Linked DNA regions of Homo sapiens: regions 2, 3, 4, 5, 6 and 7 are each linked to region 1. The links are contacts of gene promoters, found by promoter capture Hi-C in blood cells and fetal thymus (Javierre and others, 2016). All regions are on one chromosome and are shown on one strand. The core of a region is centred on a gene start or on the middle of the fragment in contact, and the rest is flanking DNA. Distances in the headings are between cores, read along the strand shown.

Region 1 (2,700 bases), core at 20-2,519:
ATAAATAACATGGTCACCCTTTCAATTAGGATCTGTTGACTAAAAGCAGCAGCTTGTCCATAGTAGAGCTGGATAAACAGTGCAGGTTCTCCGTCAGGGCTCTCCTCCTCTTCCCTCTACTCACTCTCCAACCAGGAGTCTAGGACAACCACAGGGGCCAGCCGTGGAGCAGAGTTGCGCTCTGTTAGGCCTTCCTACCAGACCCCAGCTCCACCAGCAATGGGGACTCCCACAGTCTCTTGGGGCAGGTCCATGGGAGGCCACTCTTGGCCATTATTCCCTGATTCATATCACCTTTGATGACAGTAGTAATAATGACACTAATGGCAACACAAGATCATTTTTTAAGCACTGATTATGTGGCAGGCACTACACCTGCCAAGCAAATGGCTCGACAGGCATCACCTCTTTTAATCCTCACCCCAACTCTGTTGGGTGGATATTACTAGCCCATTTTACAGATGGGAAAGCCGGTGAAATCACTTTACCAAGGTCACACAGCTAGTCAGTTTACAGGGCTGGATTTGAATCCAGTTTTGTCCAACTCTAGCCAAGGTTCTTAATCATTGCACTCCATTGCCTCCTGGGTGGCCACTATGTGACCCAAAAAGCAAAGTCTGGGCATACCGGCTACACTCTCTCCATAATGAAAACAAACTCTCAAACCAGAAGGAACCATCAGGTGCCCTCAAGGTCCCTGTTCTCCACCAATCCCCACTAACGGGATACTCCAAGTGGCCCCACCCTCGTCCTACTCTTTCAGAAAACTCCTTACCTGTTCTTCACACGCTCTACAAAGTACATGGCGCAATGCTACTGGCAATTGTGGTGCAGGTCGCGGCTCCCAGCCCTCCAGAGTGTCAGGTGGTGGGCCCCCCAGAGACCCTCTCCGAAGGAACCCACCCCACACACTGCCCCTGGCCAGACACCCTCAAGAGCAAACCCCAAGGCCGCGTTAGAACGAAATCCCACCAGCTGGAACCCCGGCCCGGTTACCACGACCACCAATGCCCCGGCCGCACCTGCAGCCGCTGAGCGTCCCAGGGACGGTGACGTCCTCTTCCAACACCAAGTCCATCATGGCTACAGAGGTGGCGACAGCGTTGGTGTCTGTGGCGGCGGCGCCACTAGTACCCCCCGCGATAGCGACCCGCCGGGCTCCCCAGGTCCCCGCCCCCTCCACCCCAGCTCTTGTTCAGACTCTGGCGGCGCCGCTGGAATTCAAACCACAGACGCCGCCATCTTTCCCGGCGCTTCTTCCTACGGAAACGAGGCGGGGTCACGGAGGCGCACGCAGTGAAGCCGACCGGCTGGCGCCAGAGGACGGGCAGGGAAGCGGGGATAGGTGCCATCTTAACTAAGGGCAAAGCATCCGTGCTTAAGCCAAGCAAAAATAAGAGACAAAAAAAGGCCGGCTGCCATTTTTTGTGAGGGCACTTAGGGAGAGGCGAGGGCGGGTGCCATCTTTGTTGAGGGCCAAAGCGGGCCCTAGTCCGTTAATTTACGCGGGAGATGGAAATGAATACAGCCACTCAGGAATCCTCAAAGTTCCTAACCTCGTGTTTGCTTTTCTAGAATAATGACCCCAAAACTTTGGGATTTGACCTTAAGTTGAAACTCAGATAACTGAGTGCTGCCTTGCTTTGGAAAAATACTACGTGCGGAATCTCAAGGCAAACAGTAATTTGCAGACTTAGTTTGAAGCAAATAACTCATTCCCATGAGCCAGTGGTCAACAGCACTCCCACTCCAGTCTCTCACCTATTGGTCTTTTATTACCATTAGGACTCAAAGGCACCTGTGGTCAGAAAACTGAGGGCCAGCAAGAGGAAAGGACTCTCCCAAAGTAATTAAGTATTGACAATGTCTTTCAACTGGAGTGGGGGTCTGCAGCTCCTGCCAACTAGATGAGGGCTCTCTGCATAACCCTGGCTGCCTTTCTTTTTTTTTTTTTTTGAAATGGTGCCTCTGTCGCCAGGCTGGAGTGCAGTGGCCCGATCTCAGCTCACTGCAACCTTCACCTTCTGGGTTTAAGCGATTCTTCTGCCTCGGCCTTGCGCCACCACACCCGGGTAATTTTTGTATGTTTAGTAGAGACGGGGTTTCACCATGTTGGCCAGGATGGTCTCAATCTCCTGACCTCGTGATCTGCCCACCCCGGCCTTCCAAACTGCTGGGATTACAGGCGTGAGCCACAGCACCGGCCCCTTGGCTGCCTTTCTTAAAGCACATAGCAATCACCAAACACTTAGATAATCTTGGCAGAGCTTAAGCAATGAAATTAACCTTCCCCTCCTCAACTCAGTGTTGCTCCTTCCTCTGCAGGCCCTTGTGAGAGAGCCCGATGAAAATAACTTGAAATGGTTGGTGAGTGGATAGATAGTGACTTTCCCAGTAATCTTGAACAATTCCCCTTTCACCCTGTTTCCTCATTCTTTTTTTTTTTTTTTTAAATAGAGACAGGGTCTCACTATGTTGCCCAGGCTGGTCTTGAACTCCTGGCCTCAAGCAATCCTCCCACCTTGGCCTCCCAAAGTGCTGGGGTTATAGGCCTGAGCCACTGCACCAGGCCCTCATTCTTCAGTTAAGTAATTAACCAATTATTGATACTTTTCAAAAGAAGCCTTCCCTAGTCATTTAATCTAAATCAAGCCACTTCTTGTATTCCTAGCAATGCAAATTATTCCTTTGTGGCACTTA
Region 2 (2,700 bases), core at 128-2,627, 820 kb after region 1:
ATCTGGGCCTAGTGTAGAGTGACCAGCTGTTCTGGTTTATCCAAGATTAAGGGATTTCGATTTCCTGGGATGTGAGACTTCCAATGCTAAAACTGTGAAAGTCCCCAGCAAACCAGGACAAATTGGTCATGCTAGCCTAATATGAATGGGCGGACAGATTAGTGACAGGAGCTTATCGGCATAAGCACTGAAACACCTTCTGGGATAACCATGACCTGGCAAGAGAGCCTTTAGTGGTGCAAAGAAATGGTGATCCTTGATAATGCATGGTAGTTGCTATTCAAATCTACCTCCCAATGGATCCAATCTGGGGTCCCACGGAGAAAGGAGGCTGGAAGTAAAATACGAAAGAACTGTTTCACTAATCTGTGACCCCGTTTAACAGAGTGTAACTCAGAGAGGACAGATTCTTTCTCACCGTGGACTACCCCACAGCTCTGGAAACCTGAGGGCTTTAGTACATTGGGAGATTCAGTTAAATACAGGTTGGGGGAGTTCCAAGGGATGGAGAGGGTGGGGAAAGGGAGAAGGAGGAACTGGTAACCTGTACTGGTACAAGAAAAACTAAAATACTTAGCAGAACAGAATAACATCTGTGCAGTGGGGTATAAGTCAGTGAAATATGAGTTATTACAGCACAGGTGACATCAGCAGGCTTTTCTTGAAGCAATTCCTTTCAGAAGGAAAGAATGTGTTGATTACTTTCTTTGTTATGTTGCGCCATCTACTGGTAACTCTCATGTACTTTTTTCCTAGTTAGATGTTTAAAAGAAGACAGATGAATTAAAAACTTGAGAACTGTTTCCAAAGTCGTCATTTATTCGTTCGTTCGTTCATTCATTCATTCATTCATTCACTTCACAAATACTGAGTGAGTATGTATACCTTCTATATTGCAGTTACATTTCTAGGCATTGGGGTTACAGCTGTGAACAAAACTGAAAGAACCCTGAACTCATGGAAGCTTACTTTGATGAAAGAGTACATTTCATTTTTTTCCCATGTGAATGTTCTGTTTTCAAAGCACCATTTACTGAAAAGATTATTTTTTTTTCTTTAGGACTCTGCAGTGCCGTTACTGTTATATATGAAGTGTCCATTTATATGTGAGTCATTGCCTATCTTGGTTATGCTCCATTGATTTATTTGTCAATTTCTGTGACAATATCATATTGTCTTTATCATTTTACTTTATAATCATTGTTAATATTTAGTACATCAAGAACTCCCACCTCATTTTTTAAAAGAATGTTTTGGATAGTCTTGGCCTTTAAATTTTCCATAAAGTTTAAAATCAGTCTGTCAAATTCTGTCAAAAAAAAAAAAACCCTCCTGGGAATATTTATTGGGATTGAACTGAATCATTAAATCATTTTAGAGTGAACTGATATTTTTATACTATTGAGCCTTCCAATCACGATTTACTTCAGTTTTCCTTAGTGTCTTTCAATAGACATAAAAGTCTTATATATCTTTTGGTACACTTATTTGTAGATACTTGATTTTTTTAGGCTAAAAAGGCATCTTTAAAAAATCATTTGCTAACAATTATGGCTGGTGTTTGGAAATGTAACTACTTTTGTCATATTGATTATTCATCTAGGGATTTTGCTAAATGCTCTTATAATTCAAATAAATCTCTTTTTCCTACATATACAATTTATCATTTGTAGATAATTATACCATTAATTTGTTTTTCTTATCCTTCATGTACTAGTTAGAAGCTCTAGTACAACACAGAATAGAAATGGTGATATTAGGCACCCTTTAATTGTTCCTGACTTTACAGGAAAAGCTTTTGACATAAAACATTACTTTTCTTTGGTTTTCTACAGATACTTTTTATTAGATTAAGAACTTTCATTCTATTTCTTTTTTCTTAAGTGTTTAAAAATCTTGAATGGATATTAAGTTTTATCAAATGCTTTAGAAATTTTGCATCTATGTAGAAATACTGTAACTTTTTTTCTGCTTGAATCTCTTAATGTGGTGAAGAACTGGTACCAATTCTACTGAAACTATTCAAAAAATTTGAGGAGGAAGGACTCCTCTCCAACTCATTCTATAAAGCCAGCATCACCCTGATACCAAAATCTGGCAAAGACATAATGATAAAAGAAAGCTACAGGCCAATATCTCTGATGAATGTATGTGCAAAAATCCTCAACAAAATACTAGCAAACTGAATCCGAAGCACATTAAAAAGTTAATTCATCATGATCAAGTTGGTTTCATTCCTGGGATGCAAGGTTGGTTCAACATACACAAATCAATAAATGTGATTCACCACATAAACAGAATTAAAAACAAAAACCATATGATCATCTCAATAGACACAGAAAAAGCTTTTTATAAAATTCAACATCCCATCATGATAAAAGCCCTCTAAAAAATAGTCACCAAAGGAACATACCTCAAAATAAGAGCCATCTATGATAAACCAGCTAACATCATACTGAAGGGGCAAAAATTGGAAGCATTCCCCTGGAGAATTGGAACAAGACAAGAATGCCCACTCTCACCACTCCTATTCAACATGGTAATGAAAGTCCTTGACACAGCAATCAGGTGAAAGAAAGAAATAAAAGACATCCAAATAGGAAAAGAAGAAGATAGTTTGACTTCTTCTTTGCTGATGATAGGAATCTATACATAGAAAACCCTAAAAACTGCCAAAAGTCTCCTAGAACTGATAAACAA
Region 3 (2,700 bases), core at 164-2,663, 640 kb after region 1:
CCACTTCTCCCACTAGGCTAGGAGTTCCTGGAAGACAGGAATTTTACCTTGGTCATTGTATTAGTTTGCTAGGACTGCCGTAACAAATAGTACAGGCTCAGTGGCTTAAACAACAGAAAATTATTTTATTCTGGAGGCTACAAGTCCAAGATCAAGATGTCCAAGCGTTGCATTCTTCTGAGGGTTGGTTTCTTCCTTGGCTTGTGGATGACTGTCTTCTTCCTGTGTCTTCACATGGTCTTCCCTCTGTTTGTGTCTGCATCCTAATTTCCTCTTCTTTTTTTAGTTCTGGGTTTTGTCTTCCACTTTATTTAGATTTTTAAAGTATTTTTCTAACTTAAGGAGATTTCTTTTTTAAAATTCAACTTTGGCTGGGCACATTGGCTCACGCCTATAATCCCAGCACTTTGTGAGGCCAAGGCGGGTGGATCACAAGGTCAGGGTGGATCACGAGACCAGCCTGGCCAACATGGTGAAACCCTGTTTCTACTAAAAATACAAAAAAAAATTAGCTGGGTGTGGTGGTGGGCACCTGTAATCCCAGCTACTCAGGAGGCTGAGGCAGGAGAATCATTTGAACCTGGGAGGCGGAGATTGCAGTGAGCCAAGATCGCACCATTGCACTCCAGCCTGGGCAACAGGGCAAAACTCCGTCTCAAAAAAAAAAAAAATAACTTTTATTTTAAGTTCAGGAGTACCTGTGCAGATTTGTTACAGAAGCAAACTTCTGTCCTGGGGGTTTGTTGTACAGATTATTTTGTCACCCAGGTATTAAGCCTAGTACCCATTAGTTCTTTTTCCTGAGCCACTCCCTCCTCCCAACCTAAACCCTCCAATAGGCCCCTAATCTCCTTTTCTTATAAAGATACCATTCATATTGGATTAGGGCCCACCCTAGTGACCTCATTTTAATTTAATTACCTCATTAAAGACCCTGTCTCTAAATACAGTCACATTCTGAGGTACTGGGGGTTAGGACTTCAATTCAATTGGGATGTGGCTGAGTGGCACAATTCAGCCCACAACAGCCATTTCTTTAAATTTTTTAAATTTAATTAAATTTTTAAATATTTCAAATAATATAGAAATGTATTATTATTATTATTATTATTATTATTATTATTATTATAACCTCAAACAAAACAAGCCCTCCTTTCTCTGCTCTTTTCTACCCAACCGTTAATACTGCTACCAGGTCTGTTTCAAGCTTTTGCGTATATAAGGGTACATACATAAAGATATAACTTTGGTGTGTGTTTTCTCTTTTACATAAGTACGATCAAATTGTCCATATTGTTTTGCATATCCTGATCTTATTCATTCTTTTTATGTATGTGTCCAGTCTACCTCATGCCCTGACTCACAGTTTAGCTATGACTAAGCATGTTCAGAACATTTGTTGAGCTCTTAAGAAGGGTGGTCATGGAGTATAGGTCTGCTATGAATTGTCTGGCAGTCATTTAATATTGTATTATATTTTAGGTCTGTCAACCTGAAATAAACAGCAGAGAGACCAGTTCTCCAAAACAAAGAGTTTATTTGAGAATAACAGGGAATTGCGATTTTGGGTGCACATGCTGTGGTGGACCACAGGTGCACCAAAGGGGATGGGGCAAGAGGAAGCTTTTAAGAGAAAGGACGAGAGGCCAGGCTCGGTGGCTCATGCCTGTAATCCCAGTGCTTTGGGAGGCTGAGGCAGGTGGATCACTGGAGGTCAGGGGTTCAAGACCAGCCTGGCCAATATGGCAAAACCCTGTAACTACTAAAAATACAAAAATGAACCAGGCATCATGACGTGTACCCATAATTGCAGCTACTCAGGAGGCTGAGTCACGAGAATCACTTGAACTCGGGAGGCGGAGGTTGCAGTAAGCCGATAACGCACCACTGCACTCCAGCCTAGGTAACAGAGTGAGTCTCTGTCTCAAAAAAAATAAAGAAAGGAGGAAACGTACATGTAAGCTAATTTGAAAAAAAGACCATTGGTTACAGGAGCTTGTTGCAGGAGTTGGCATTAGCTTATTGGTGGAGACAGCCACTGTTGGACAAATGTCCCTGTGCAAGCCAGGTGGCTTATGTGGAATTTCTTGGATAGTTTCTGTTGTAGGCATACATGCATGAGGACCCTTCCTTCATGGCCTCCCCTCTCCATTTTGTGAGAGTTTAGCCTAAGTGACTCCATTTTGGTACTGGCAACTTTCACAAGTTTCATTTTTCTTGTATGTAAAATGGAGGACAATAATATTCATCTCCCAGGGTCCTGAAATGATCTGGTATTTGGAGGTTACCCTACCAGTTTTGTCCAAGCATCCATCCTGCATGACACCTGAAGTCCAATATCTTTATTCAGTTTCACTTCCTTGATGTTTCTCAGAGTCCTGAGGATGCTTCCTTGATGGACAGATCCACCTGGTGGGGGCCAACTCCTCTGGCCGGGCAGTTCTGCCAGGGCTCTGTGTCTGCTGCTGCTGCGCTTGCTGCTTCTCTTTACCCGGTCTCCTGACTCAGTTCCCCAAAACACACCAAATACCAGAAGGTTCAAGTTAGGGGATTTTTTTTTTTTTTTTTTAAATAGAGACTAGTCTCACCATGTTGCCCAGGCTGGTCTTGAACTCCTAGGCTCAAGTGATCCTCCTGCCTTGGCTTCCCAAGGTGTGGGATTACAGAGGGGAGCCACAGCACACCACCAAGTTAAGGGAT
Region 4 (2,700 bases), core at 116-2,615, 690 kb after region 1:
GTGAGCAGGAGACATTGGCTTTCTTCCTAGCTCCTTGTCTGCCCAGACATCTGTCGCTTTATCCTGTCTTCACACCCTCCTCAGAGCATGGAAGGGAGCTTTAAAACACCCAGAACTCATTCTGGGCTGTCCTGAGGGTAATTGGACTTTGTGGAAGGCGGGGCCTCTGGGGAGGTGCCTTTCGCTTTTGTTTGGCATCTGGGGACTTTTCAAACACTTAATCCTGTGTGTCCTGTTCTCCCAGGACCACATTTCTGACCAGGGCACCAGGACCTCTCACCGCTCTGCCGTTTACAGCGACCATAGCTTGCTAGAATCTTACCCCATCTCCATTTCCTCCATTTCACAGTTGAGAAAAGTCAAGGACCCAGAGAGTTTATGATGGGCTAATTGTCACACAGTGAGGCAGGGTAGGGCTGAGACCCAATTCCGGTCTGCCGTTTGCGGACTCCTTGCTGGGAGGGACTCTAGCCTCCTTCTTGGGTGTTCCGTTTACTAAAGGGACAAGCATTCCCTGTACATACACACTTGGGGGTGCTGGTTGGTGTTTCTTGGGGCTGTTAAGGGGGAGAGGCTTGGAAACAGAGGAGGAAGGATGGGGGTGGGAACGGTCGGCTTTCAGCTCCTTTGAAACTCCATTTTTCTTTCTGGGGCCATGCTATTTATAAATGCCAGGGAAATTGTAAACAGCCAGGGGAGCTTGGGTTGGCACTCGGTGAGTTACACAGCAGCAAAGAAGGTTTCTGTGTGAATCAGGGGAGGAAAGTTTACTCCAGAATTTTCCACAGTCCTTTTATTAGGGACTAACATGAGCCTGGAAACAGGCTGCTCCCAGGAGGGGTGGCTGCAGGGTTTGCCCCGCATGGCATTTCCTTCCTCCCCGCCTCCCTCCTTTCAGCACTTCTCTGGGCCTGTGTTCTGTGCCTTGCCCTGCGAGGGGCCAAAGAGCCTTGGAAGAGGACAGAGCTCTCTGTCCTCAAGATGCTTGCCATCTATACTGTTTGACACTTTTGTGCCATATTAAGAGTGACTTCAGCCTGCAAGAGGAGTGACTAATTTTGTCTAGGTGAGCCAGACCTCAGAATGAATAATCATTTACCAGGAGAAACAGGAGTTGGGGGAAAAGACATTCTGGGAAGCAGGAACCACTAGTGCAAAGGCACTGAGATTTTCTGAGCCATCCATGTGGCTAGAGTGGAGGATGGGAGAAGGGCGGGGTGGTGGGAGGTTGAGAATCTAAATGAAAATGGAACTAGATTATAAGCTAAGGGTTTGGACCTCATCCTGAAGGCAATGAAGAGCTGAGAAAGGGTTTTGACAGAGCAGTGATTTTTAAAAACTCGTTATTCTGAATGGCTGATGTAGGGGATGCATTGAACGAGGCTGATCTGGAGGCAGGAAGGCCCTGAGGAGGCTGTTGCATGATTCAAGTGAAGTAGATTGCAGGTCTGAACTAGAGCAGTGGCCACTGGGATGGGTCAGAGCAGCAGATTCTGGAAGCCCAGCTGAAGGTCTCAGAACCTGCTATAAATTTCATCTAAAAGCAGACAACAGGCTAGACCTACTGGAGAAGGTTGCTAAGGTATTCAGCATTGTAACTTTTTTTTCTTTTTCATGAGTTTTAAAACAAACAAAAATTGTTAAAGAATCCCTCCAAGCCCGCCTCTTTCCCCAGAGGTCGCCACTGTTAACAATGGTGTGTGCACTCCTGCCAAACACGTTGATTGGATGCCTTCACTTTTAGCCATCCAGTGACAGTGGGTCACTTTCCCCTACTCCATGTGAATAGTTTGGGTCATTTGTGATGTGGGTCATAGAGATGATTTCTGCTTGGTCTATGGTACGTTGCTGAGACACTGAGCTCTGGTTTTCTTTAAGAAAACTTTTACATCCTGTGTCTGCGGCCTCTGGGTGTGTATATTTGCTTATCAGAGACCACAGGTGTGAGAGAAGTTAGAAGCACTGACTTGGAAATGGACCCCCAGTCTTGGTTCTTTGGGTGACCTTGGGCAAATCCTATCTCTCTGAGCCTCTGGTTCCTCATGTGTAAAATGGAGAGATGTTGGTTTGCATGATAATAATAAAAAGCTATCTTTTAACTGGGCATGGTGGCTCACACCTGCAGTTCCAGCATTTTGGGAGGCCGAGTTGGGTTGATGGCTTAAGCCAGGAGTTTGAGACCAGCCTGGTCAACATGGTGAAACCCTGTCTCTACTGAAAATACGTGCTGGGATGCTCCTGTAATCCTAGCTACTTGGGAGGCTGAGGTATGAGAATTGCTTAAACCCTGGAGACGGAGGTTACAGTAAGCTGAAATCACGCCACTGCACTCCAGCCTGGATGACAGAACAATACTGTCTCAAAACAAAAAAAGAAAAGACAAAAAAAGCTATCTTTTAATATACCAAGCACTGGAACATTAATTACTTTATTGATTCCTTGCAACCATTCCTCTGAGGTAGATACTAGTATCTTCTTTTACAGATGAGGAAACTGAGTCCGAGGCTGAATAACATGCCCCGGGTTGTGTGGCTATTGGGTGATGGTGCAAGGATTCCAGAGGTCTGACGACAGAGCCATAGCTATTAATGACAGCACTAAACATTCTCTTGAAAATTCTTTCTAGTCCTGGTATTAGGAGAACTGGTAAGGGAGTTTGTTATGCTTTTATGAGGGGTGGGTGTCGGTGTGCAGAGCTTG
Region 5 (2,700 bases), core at 175-2,674, 760 kb after region 1:
TGCCAGGAATTATATTCTTGGCAAGTACATAAATTCAAGATGAAAAATTTTTACATGCCGATTTAAAATGTTTGATGGACTTTATAGTTTTTCTAAATTCTGTAAGGGGTTTCACAGGCAAAAAAGTTTGAAGATCACTCGAGTAGTAGACAGAACAGGAGTTCTGGAGTCAAATGGACTTGAGTTCAAATCCCAAATCTAACATTTACCAGCCGAATGTCCTCAGAGAGGTTACTGAACATCCTGAACCTCAGTTTCCCATTCTTAAAGCAGACTAACATGTACTTCAGAGGACCACTTGTGAGGAAGACAGAGAAAGTATATAAAGTGTTAAATGAATAAAGGGGGCTATTATAGAGGAATGGCAAGTGACAAGACCTGATTTTTGGGTCCAACTATGCTTTAATGCACAAAAGATTCAAGGTAGTTACTTTAATTCATAATCCTAGAAGAAGGAAAGGTATTAAGACACCATAATTATCAAGATTAAAAGTACAATTTCTCCAGGTTATTATCCTCACTTGAATCTTGAATAATTAATGGTCCATAATACTCCATGAATATCAGAATTGGAGGTGATGGTCTTATGCCCAGTGAGATTTCATTCACTCACACAGCAAAATTTGGGGGCCTTCTAGGGTTAATAAGCCCTGTGTAGGAAAAGCTAAGGATAGAGTGGAATCCCTAGCCTTCTTCAGCTCCTGGTCAGGTAGGGAAGGCAGACATGGAAGTAGATCATTTCATTCTAGTGTGATAAATGCTGACAGACATATGTACAAGGCACAGTGCAAGCAAACAGAAGAAAGCAACTTTTCCAGAGGGTGACGTGGTGAGGTTATAGAAGTTGAATATTAAATGATAAAATGTTTGCTGTTTAGAAAAAGATGAGGAAGAATATTTTGGGCAGAACACATGAAACGGTACTGAGGTATAAAAATGGTATATTCCAGAAAACTGTCAATGGCTGAATACTATGGCAGGAAGAGGGGAAAGGTGGGGGATGAATGGGGCCGGGTTCTGAAGGGCAGTGAGGGCCAGGGTGTTTGGTCTTCATTCTGTAGGCAATGGGAAGCTGCAGAATGATTTTAAGCAGGTAAGTAAACTCCATCAGATCTAGTTTGAAAAAGCTCTCTGACAGATGTCTGAGGTTAGAAGAGAAGGCAGTGAAAGCTGCTAGTGGAACTGCTTTAGAGTGGCCGGTGCGATTCATAGGTGGTGGGGACAGAGAATGAAATGGTTTGGGGAGCTATTCTCCCTCCCCGAAGGAGGGCGAATCAGTGGAATTTGGAGACTAGGTAGGAGGAGGAAAGGGGGACACAGGCTGAGACCCAGGTTTCCAGGTTTTGGTTGCATAGATTAGTGCCATTAATGGAGATAGGATACAGAATATAGTACTCACTGAGAGAAAGGATCCAGCTTATAGGATAAAAACCTTAATTTATCAAAGCCACACATCATGTCCTGCCTAGGTCTGTGAGAAGGGACAAGTGCCAGCTTTGCTCAAAGAAAACCACAGAACTGTATTCCAAGGTAGGCACTACAGAGAATACATCAGAAATCCCCTGCTATGAGAGCAGCAGGCTCTCATTTTTTCCATATCATCTCAGATGTCCAATTAGGCACTTTTTTCTTTGGACATGGACCAACTGAAAAGATATCTCATTTCCCACCACCAATCAATACACAATCGCTTGGCTGAGAAGCCAGACCCACCGGGCTGGGCACACATTTTGTTCATAGAAAAGCCACACTGAGCAAGCTGCCAAAGATGTAAACAACACCACCGGCTTTGTCTAAATACAGGCCAAGTACACTCCGTTGATAGGATCTTAGAGAGCAAAGCAAGCTATTTGTGGGTGTGCACGGCTTTTGTCGAATGTGCAGTAATCTCATAGCAATCAACATTTCATATTTATAGAACATCATTTTAAAGTCTGGCATTTTCATGTATGTGAAATTGGTGCTACCTGTCCCTTCTGCAGACCAGGTGGTCTGGGCAGAGGAAAAGGCAGAGAAAGGTGATCTGTATTTCTGCACTCCATCCTCTCAATTAATAGACTTCTACACCCAGAAACATGAGCCCAAAAGCATGTGCCAGGTGTTTTTCTGAGAGTTATGAAAAGGAAATAAAAGCTGATGCAAACACAAAAGATATTACATTTCAGGCCACTAAGAGCTGGTCTAAACACTTTAAAAACCAAACCTAACATACAGAGAAACACGTAGGAGAATCTGTCCTCTTCTGTGACCGGCTTCTTTCACTCAAATTATGTGTGTGAGCACTTACATTCATTCTCTTTGCTATGTAGTATGCCTACATGTGAATAAACCAGACTTCATTCATTCAGCTAGGAATGGACATTTGGGTATTCTACAGTTTGGGTCAATGTGCTGCTGTGAACATTCTAGTACATGCCTTTTGGTAAACATATGAGTGCATTTCTGTTAGATTCATACTTAGGAGTTGGAGCTGCTGGCTCATAGGGTATACAAATGTTCAGTATGAATAGACATTGCCAGACTGTTTTCCACAGTGGTTGTATTAAGTTACACTGCCACCAGCAGAATATGAGAGTTCTAGTTCCTCTCTCACCCACACTTGGTTCTTTTCCGTTCTTTTCAGGCCATTCTGATAGCTGTCTAGTGTGACATCCGCTTATAATGTGAATTTGCATTTCCCCGATGGCTAATTAGCCTAAG
Region 6 (2,700 bases), core at 76-2,575, 800 kb after region 1:
AGGCAGAGGTTGCAGGTAGCTGAGAGCATGCCACTGCACTCCAGCCTGGGTGACAGAATGAGACTCCAATTCAAAAAAAAACAAACCAAACCAAAACAAAAAAAACCTGTTTTGAGAAGTCAGCAATGGTCAGTTCAATATTGGCCATTAAGTAATGCAAGCATTGTAATGTAAGGTTTGATTATTGTATTTGTGTTACCTATCATTTTACAGTACTAAATTCCCATAAGCCATGACAAGTTACCTTTACAAGTTACATTCATGTTTTACCTTTCTTTATATTGACTATTCTCTGTTTATAGAGAAGAGGTGAATGAGTGAAATATTAGCTACTATAAAATAATGGCTACCATGTCCATAAAATAATAGACTGCCTGGTCTACTAGATGCCAGTAATCATATTAATAGCTTTATATAATTATCTCCTTTAATCTTTGCAAAAAGTCTGCATTATAGTTCTCAGCCCTCTTCTAAATTGAGGGAACTAAGGTTCAAAGAGATCAACTAATTTGGTCAAAGTCACACAGGAAGGCAGTACAGAGTAATAGTTAAATGCACAGTCTTTGTGGCCTAATTCCCTGTGTTAGTATTCTTGTTCCACCATTTCCTAAATCTGTGACCTTAGGCAAGTTATCTAACTCCTTTAATGTCATTTTTCTCATCTGTAAAATGAAAGACTAAGTGAAATAATTCATGTAAAGTGCTCAGCACAGTGGCTGGTACAGAGTGAGTACTTCATAAATGTTAGTGGTTATTAAAAGTAATTGTATATTACACAGTCATTGTATATTCTTTTTATTATTACAAATAGGTGACAACATGGATTTAAACTTAAGTCTCCCTGGCCCTGAAGTTCCCTTCTTTTCCTTTACTCAACTCTCTCTGTGTAAATTTTTAGTCATTGGTGAAGAGAGAACTGATTCTCCTAAATGGCTTTACCTCTGTGAAAAAACAGATTTGCCAGTTTATCAGTCAGGTTAGGCTAGGTTTGCTGCATTAATGAACAACTTTTATATATCCTTAGTTTATCACAAACAAGTTTATTTCTCATTTCCATTTTATGTCCTATGTGGCTTGACTGGGAGACTTCTTTCATTATAGTCACCCAGGAATCTAGGCTGAGGGATGCTCCATTTGCCGTATGTTTTATCATGGCCAAGGCAGAAAAAAAGGGAAATGGTGACTTCTGCACTGGTTCTTAAATATTTCTTTTTAGAAGTGACAAGTGCCACTGCTGCTTATAATTTCATTGGTCAAAGCCAGTAGCATGACCAGGTCTAACTTCAAGGGCTTTAGGAAAGAGAGGAGAATTAGACATAAGTGAGCAGCATTAATAACTACCACAGCGGCCAGGCACGGTGGCTCACGCCTGTAATCCCAGCACTTTGGGAGGCTGAGGCGGGCGGATCACGAGGTCAGGAGATTGATACCATCCTGGCTAACACGGCAAAACGCCATCTCTACTAAAAATACAAAAAAAATTAGGCAGGCGTGGTCGTGGGCCCCTGAAGTCCCAAAAACTCAGGAGGCTGAGGCAGGAGAATGGCGTGAACCCGGGAGGTGGAGCTTGCAGTGGGCAGAGATGGCGCCACTGCACTCCAGTCTGGGCGACAGAGCGAGACTCCGTCTCAAAAATAAAATAAAATAAAATAACTACCACAGCAAATTGAACTTTTTGAGTTTCCTAATTTGATATTTCTCTTTTTGATTTCTAAATTTCTTCTTATGTGTATAGATTCACTTGGTAAAAACCTAAAGATAACTTCATAGAAATAGTTCTCTTTCAGAGAGGTCCATCGGAATTATCTGGATACAGTTTCCAAAATGATGTGCCCAGGCCCCACTCAAGACTTAATGAATTGAAATATATGAGAGTCAGGCTCTGGGCGTGTACATTTTGAAAAACTCCTCGGATGGTGCTGGCTTGCACTCTGTTGTGTTTATGCAATAGTAAACCGATACGTGTTTTCAAGGATCTTGCTGAAGACAGATGGGAGGAAGCAGAGCTGAAAGGATCAGAAAGAGGAAGGGACAAGGTAGAAATTACGACTCAAGTGTGGCAGGGTTCTGAGCTCAGACTTAAGCTGTACTTACCTTAGAAGTTCACATTGGGAGATATATCTGGGCATGCCTAGATGACTGGTGGGTCAGTCATCAGAGTTCCCTTTTTATAAGGTAACATGGATCCTCCTGGGAAAAACTTCATCTTAAATTGAGAGACTTTTTTCCCCAATATTTAATTGAAAAATTTTTAATCATACGGAAGGTTGAAAGAATTTACCCATCATTTAGATTTGATAGGTGCTATCATTTTGCTGTATTTGCTTTATTTGCTAATTTTTATAGCCACTGATGATCATTACCTGAATCAATTATTTCACTGAGGAGTGGGCATTGGCAAATGGTGATTTTTCCGATGTATCATTTCTTCTACAATTATTATCTACATTCTTCTATTAAAAGAGAACTTCCCTTTATCAATTGGAGATGAAGTAAATTTTCCTAAAAAGACATCATAAATGCTTCATTATTTTAATTTGGAAAGAGTTTTCAGGAACCTATGTTTGGTTTAAGGACAGTTGACCTACATTGTAGTGAACAGATGAGCTGAGTATAGCAGAGGCTTGTGCATATTTTTCTACAGCCCAACCCTCAGAATGCTAGAGCAAGGTAGCTGCGGTGAAAAATAGTGTAGAAATT
Region 7 (2,700 bases), core at 14-2,513, 780 kb after region 1:
AAAAAGTTCAGCCCAGTTTTTTTTGTGTCAGTTCCCATGTCACATTGTGTTTTTGAGAACCCCAGATGTGTATATGGGATTGCAAATCACCAGGAACAAGGAATTAAGTACACATTTTGAAAACTGGATTTGGTCTTTCACATATCAAATGCTTGGCTAGAAATAATCAGTGTATACACTGGGAAAATGGCACTTTCATATTTTTCTAATGACTTTAAAATGAAAGTATCCTACCTTCACCTCTCAAAATTCTTCCCCACCTGGTTACCCCTCAAAAAGGTACACAGTATCTAAGTTGGGAATGCATCACTAGAGTTCTGAGACTGAAATCTGATGTTTTTACAGAGGAAGCCCTCTTAATTCCAGCTGTGTCTATTTATAGCATGTTGTGCTATAAATGCATAGCTCAGAGGTGAGGCTTAAACTCTAGCAGGCTTATAAATGAACCCTTAGTCATCTACCACTTCTGGGAATAAGAGAAAAGAAATTCTCACTCACTAAAATCTCAGGAAATTCATTTCCTTCAAGTTTCCCATGTATTACTTTAGGACTGAATCCTTCCTACCAGTTTTATGGGGAAAGGGACAAATAGTGATATTTTGGTTAATACACTTGTGGACTTTTTTTTTTTTTTTTTTTTTTTTTTTAGATGTAATCTCACTCTGTCGCCCAGGCTGGAGTGCAGTGGCGAGATCTCGGCTCACTGCAAGCTCTGCCCCCTGGGTTCACGCCATTCTCTTGCCTCAGCCTCCCCAGTAGCTGGGACTACAGGTGCCCACCACCATGCCTGGCTAATTTTTTGTATTTTTAGTAGAGACGGAGTTTCACCGTGTTAGCCAGGATGGTCTTGATCTCCTGACCTCGTGATCCTCCGGCCTCGGCCTCCCAAAGTGCTGGGATTACAGGCGTGAGCCAATGCACCCGGCCACTTGTGGGTATTTTGCTGGTTGAGAATGTTCCTAAAAATTAGGGATCCTATGATACTTGGTTGTAAATACTACTTTGCCATAGTTTAGAGCAATGGTCCCCAACCTTTTTGGCACCAGGGACCAGTTTCGTGGAAGACAATTTTTCCACAGGAAAGGGTTGGGGAACATGGTTTTGGGATGAAACTGTTCCACCACAGATCATCAGACATTAGGTTCTCATAAGGAATACACAACCTAGATCCCTCATATGTGCAGTTCACAATAGGGTTTGTGCTCTTATGAGAATCTAATGTTGCTGATCTGATCCGTCTGTGGCCTGGGAGTTGGGGACTCCTGGTTTAGAGTATTTTTTTTTCTTTTATTACCAAAATGGCAGTAGAATAAACTTTTAACTAATCAAAGAAGGGTCTGAATATGGACATAAGCCTGTACATTTGAATTTTTGTATTGAACATTCAAGTTGGGCTTACCTCCAGGAAACTCACATACATTTTCTAAAATTGCTTTTTTACTTTAAAAGCAAAAGTTACTATAAAAATTAGAAATGATAGCTCAACAAACAGAAACATTATCTATACTTTATCTCTGGATGTTTTTTGCCTTGATATACGTCTTTTAAACCTTTTCTAGCCTGTATTTTTTCAATAATGAAAGAATGGTATACACAGTGATTTAAAATCTTCTCCCTCCCATCCATGTTATGAACATTTTTTCATATCAGCACATATTCTTTATCATTATTAAAGATTAATTAATTAATTCCATTTTATATGATGAAATCTGTTGTGTCCAAATTTCTCACTTAGAAACTGCTGCATTGAATATATATTTAGCAGTGTTTCTGTACCTGCTTATTTCCTGTGTAAGTTAATTTTTCTGAAAAGATGAAATTATACAACTCTTAAAATTCTCTCATTCTGAAGGTATCTTTTGTTACTACTCCTAATAACTACCATTTATGAATTCCTATGACATGTTAGCCACATGTAGCTCCTCCTTACATACATGAGTATTTATAATGTTTACAAAAATCTGTGAAGTAGGTGTTAAAATATGCCTCCTGAAGTTCTAAAGTAATAAGGCTAAAGACCTTGTAGGAAGAAACAAAAGAAAACCAAGCAAACCATGAAACAAATGAAATTTGTTGTGTAGTAATTTTTGTTGGGTAAGTTTCTGGAAAGGCAGTTAAACATTCTTTCCAAGATGACAACACAGGCTGATTAGTCCAGAGGGCTGTAGTTGTCCCCGTTCCCCATCAGCTGATTTACTTTCAGATCTATTAACCTTAGCACTACTGGAAATCATGTGGAGTAATAAATCCACTCATCACTGAGATTTTATTATTGTAAAGTTCAACAGATAACTGGATTTCCTCTGCTGAGAATCTGACTGTGAGTCATAAGCATTATCCTACACAATAAGAAAGGATGGGCTAAGGAATTACTGAAATACCTAAACTGCCACTTTTTAACGGACACTTTTTTCCTTCTGCCTTCACAGAGTGCAAATAAAACACTTCATGTTGTAAATTGATGAGAGCAGTCCTGCCTGGATGGGGCAAGACAGAAAGGCTGGAAGTTTAGTCTCAAAAACACATGCTATTCAGTTGCAGCAGCACTTTTTAGGGGTAACAGTAGGCCAAATTGAAAAGTCTTGGCAATTTTTGAACTTTCTTCTTAAAAACATATGTATTCAGGATTAAGTGTTACTTTTGGCCACTATGATTCTTCATCAGTGATTCTTTGTCAGGATTGGCAAACTTTTCCTGTAA

What was found. Contacts are between HindIII fragments. The CHiCAGO score rates a contact against its expected background, and 5 or more counts as called.
Region 2: a contact is called between a fragment that was not itself captured here and the fragment with the promoter of CDK5RAP2 in region 1, in 8 of 17 cell types (naive CD4 T cells, activated CD4 T cells, naive CD8 T cells and 5 more). The highest score is 8.2, in naive CD4 T cells.
Region 3: a fragment that was not itself captured here is called in contact with the fragment with the promoter of CDK5RAP2 in region 1 in 4 of 17 cell types (non-activated CD4 T cells, naive CD4 T cells, total CD8 T cells and 1 more); the score reaches 7.3 in non-activated CD4 T cells.
Region 4: a fragment that was not itself captured here is called in contact with the fragment with the promoter of CDK5RAP2 in region 1 in 1 of 17 cell types (activated CD4 T cells); the score reaches 6.0 in activated CD4 T cells.
Region 5: a contact is called between a fragment that was not itself captured here and the fragment with the promoter of CDK5RAP2 in region 1, in 1 of 17 cell types (naive CD8 T cells). The highest score is 5.3, in naive CD8 T cells.
Region 6: a fragment that was not itself captured here is called in contact with the fragment with the promoter of CDK5RAP2 in region 1 in 3 of 17 cell types (total CD4 T cells, activated CD4 T cells and total B cells); the score reaches 7.5 in total CD4 T cells.
Region 7: a contact is called between a fragment that was not itself captured here and the fragment with the promoter of CDK5RAP2 in region 1, in 3 of 17 cell types (activated CD4 T cells, naive CD4 T cells and total CD4 T cells). The highest score is 6.5, in activated CD4 T cells.

What each region holds. Positions count from the first base shown.
Region 1 is chr9:120,578,898-120,581,597 of GRCh38, forward strand. CDK5RAP2 (CDK5 regulatory subunit associated protein 2) reads right to left here and starts at 1,270. Exons shown (of 38, transcript NM_018249.6): 1 at 1,023-1,270. The coding sequence starts at 1,081. RefSeq lists enhancers at 942-1,504, 1,358-1,487. The HindIII fragment of the contact is 6,111 bases long and covers 1-2,700 here.
Region 2 is chr9:121,399,606-121,402,305 of GRCh38, forward strand. The region is part of intron 3 of LOC102723324 (a long non-coding RNA gene); the gene reads left to right. Among named protein-coding and RNA genes, the nearest start is that of STOM, 31 kb to the left of the region's middle. The HindIII fragment of the contact is 831 bases long and covers 963-1,793 here.
Region 3 is chr9:121,216,709-121,219,408 of GRCh38, forward strand. It overlaps a transcript of GSN not described here. Among named protein-coding and RNA genes, the nearest start is that of RAB14, 16 kb to the left of the region's middle. The HindIII fragment of the contact is 416 bases long and covers 1,206-1,621 here.
Region 4 is chr9:121,268,991-121,271,690 of GRCh38, forward strand. All of the region lies in intron 1 of GSN (gelsolin), which reads left to right. Among named protein-coding and RNA genes, the nearest start is that of GSN, 2.2 kb to the left of the region's middle. The HindIII fragment of the contact is 3,100 bases long and covers 1-2,700 here.
Region 5 is chr9:121,342,728-121,345,427 of GRCh38, forward strand. All of the region lies in intron 6 of STOM (stomatin), which reads right to left. Among named protein-coding and RNA genes, the nearest start is that of STOM, 26 kb to the right of the region's middle. The HindIII fragment of the contact is 9,319 bases long and covers 1-2,700 here.
Region 6 is chr9:121,381,936-121,384,635 of GRCh38, forward strand. The region is part of intron 2 of LOC102723324 (a long non-coding RNA gene); the gene reads left to right. Among named protein-coding and RNA genes, the nearest start is that of STOM, 13 kb to the left of the region's middle. The HindIII fragment of the contact is 3,623 bases long and covers 1-2,700 here.
Region 7 is chr9:121,360,761-121,363,460 of GRCh38, forward strand. All of the region lies in intron 1 of STOM (stomatin), which reads right to left. Among named protein-coding and RNA genes, the nearest start is that of STOM, 8.1 kb to the right of the region's middle. The HindIII fragment of the contact is 5,018 bases long and covers 1-2,700 here.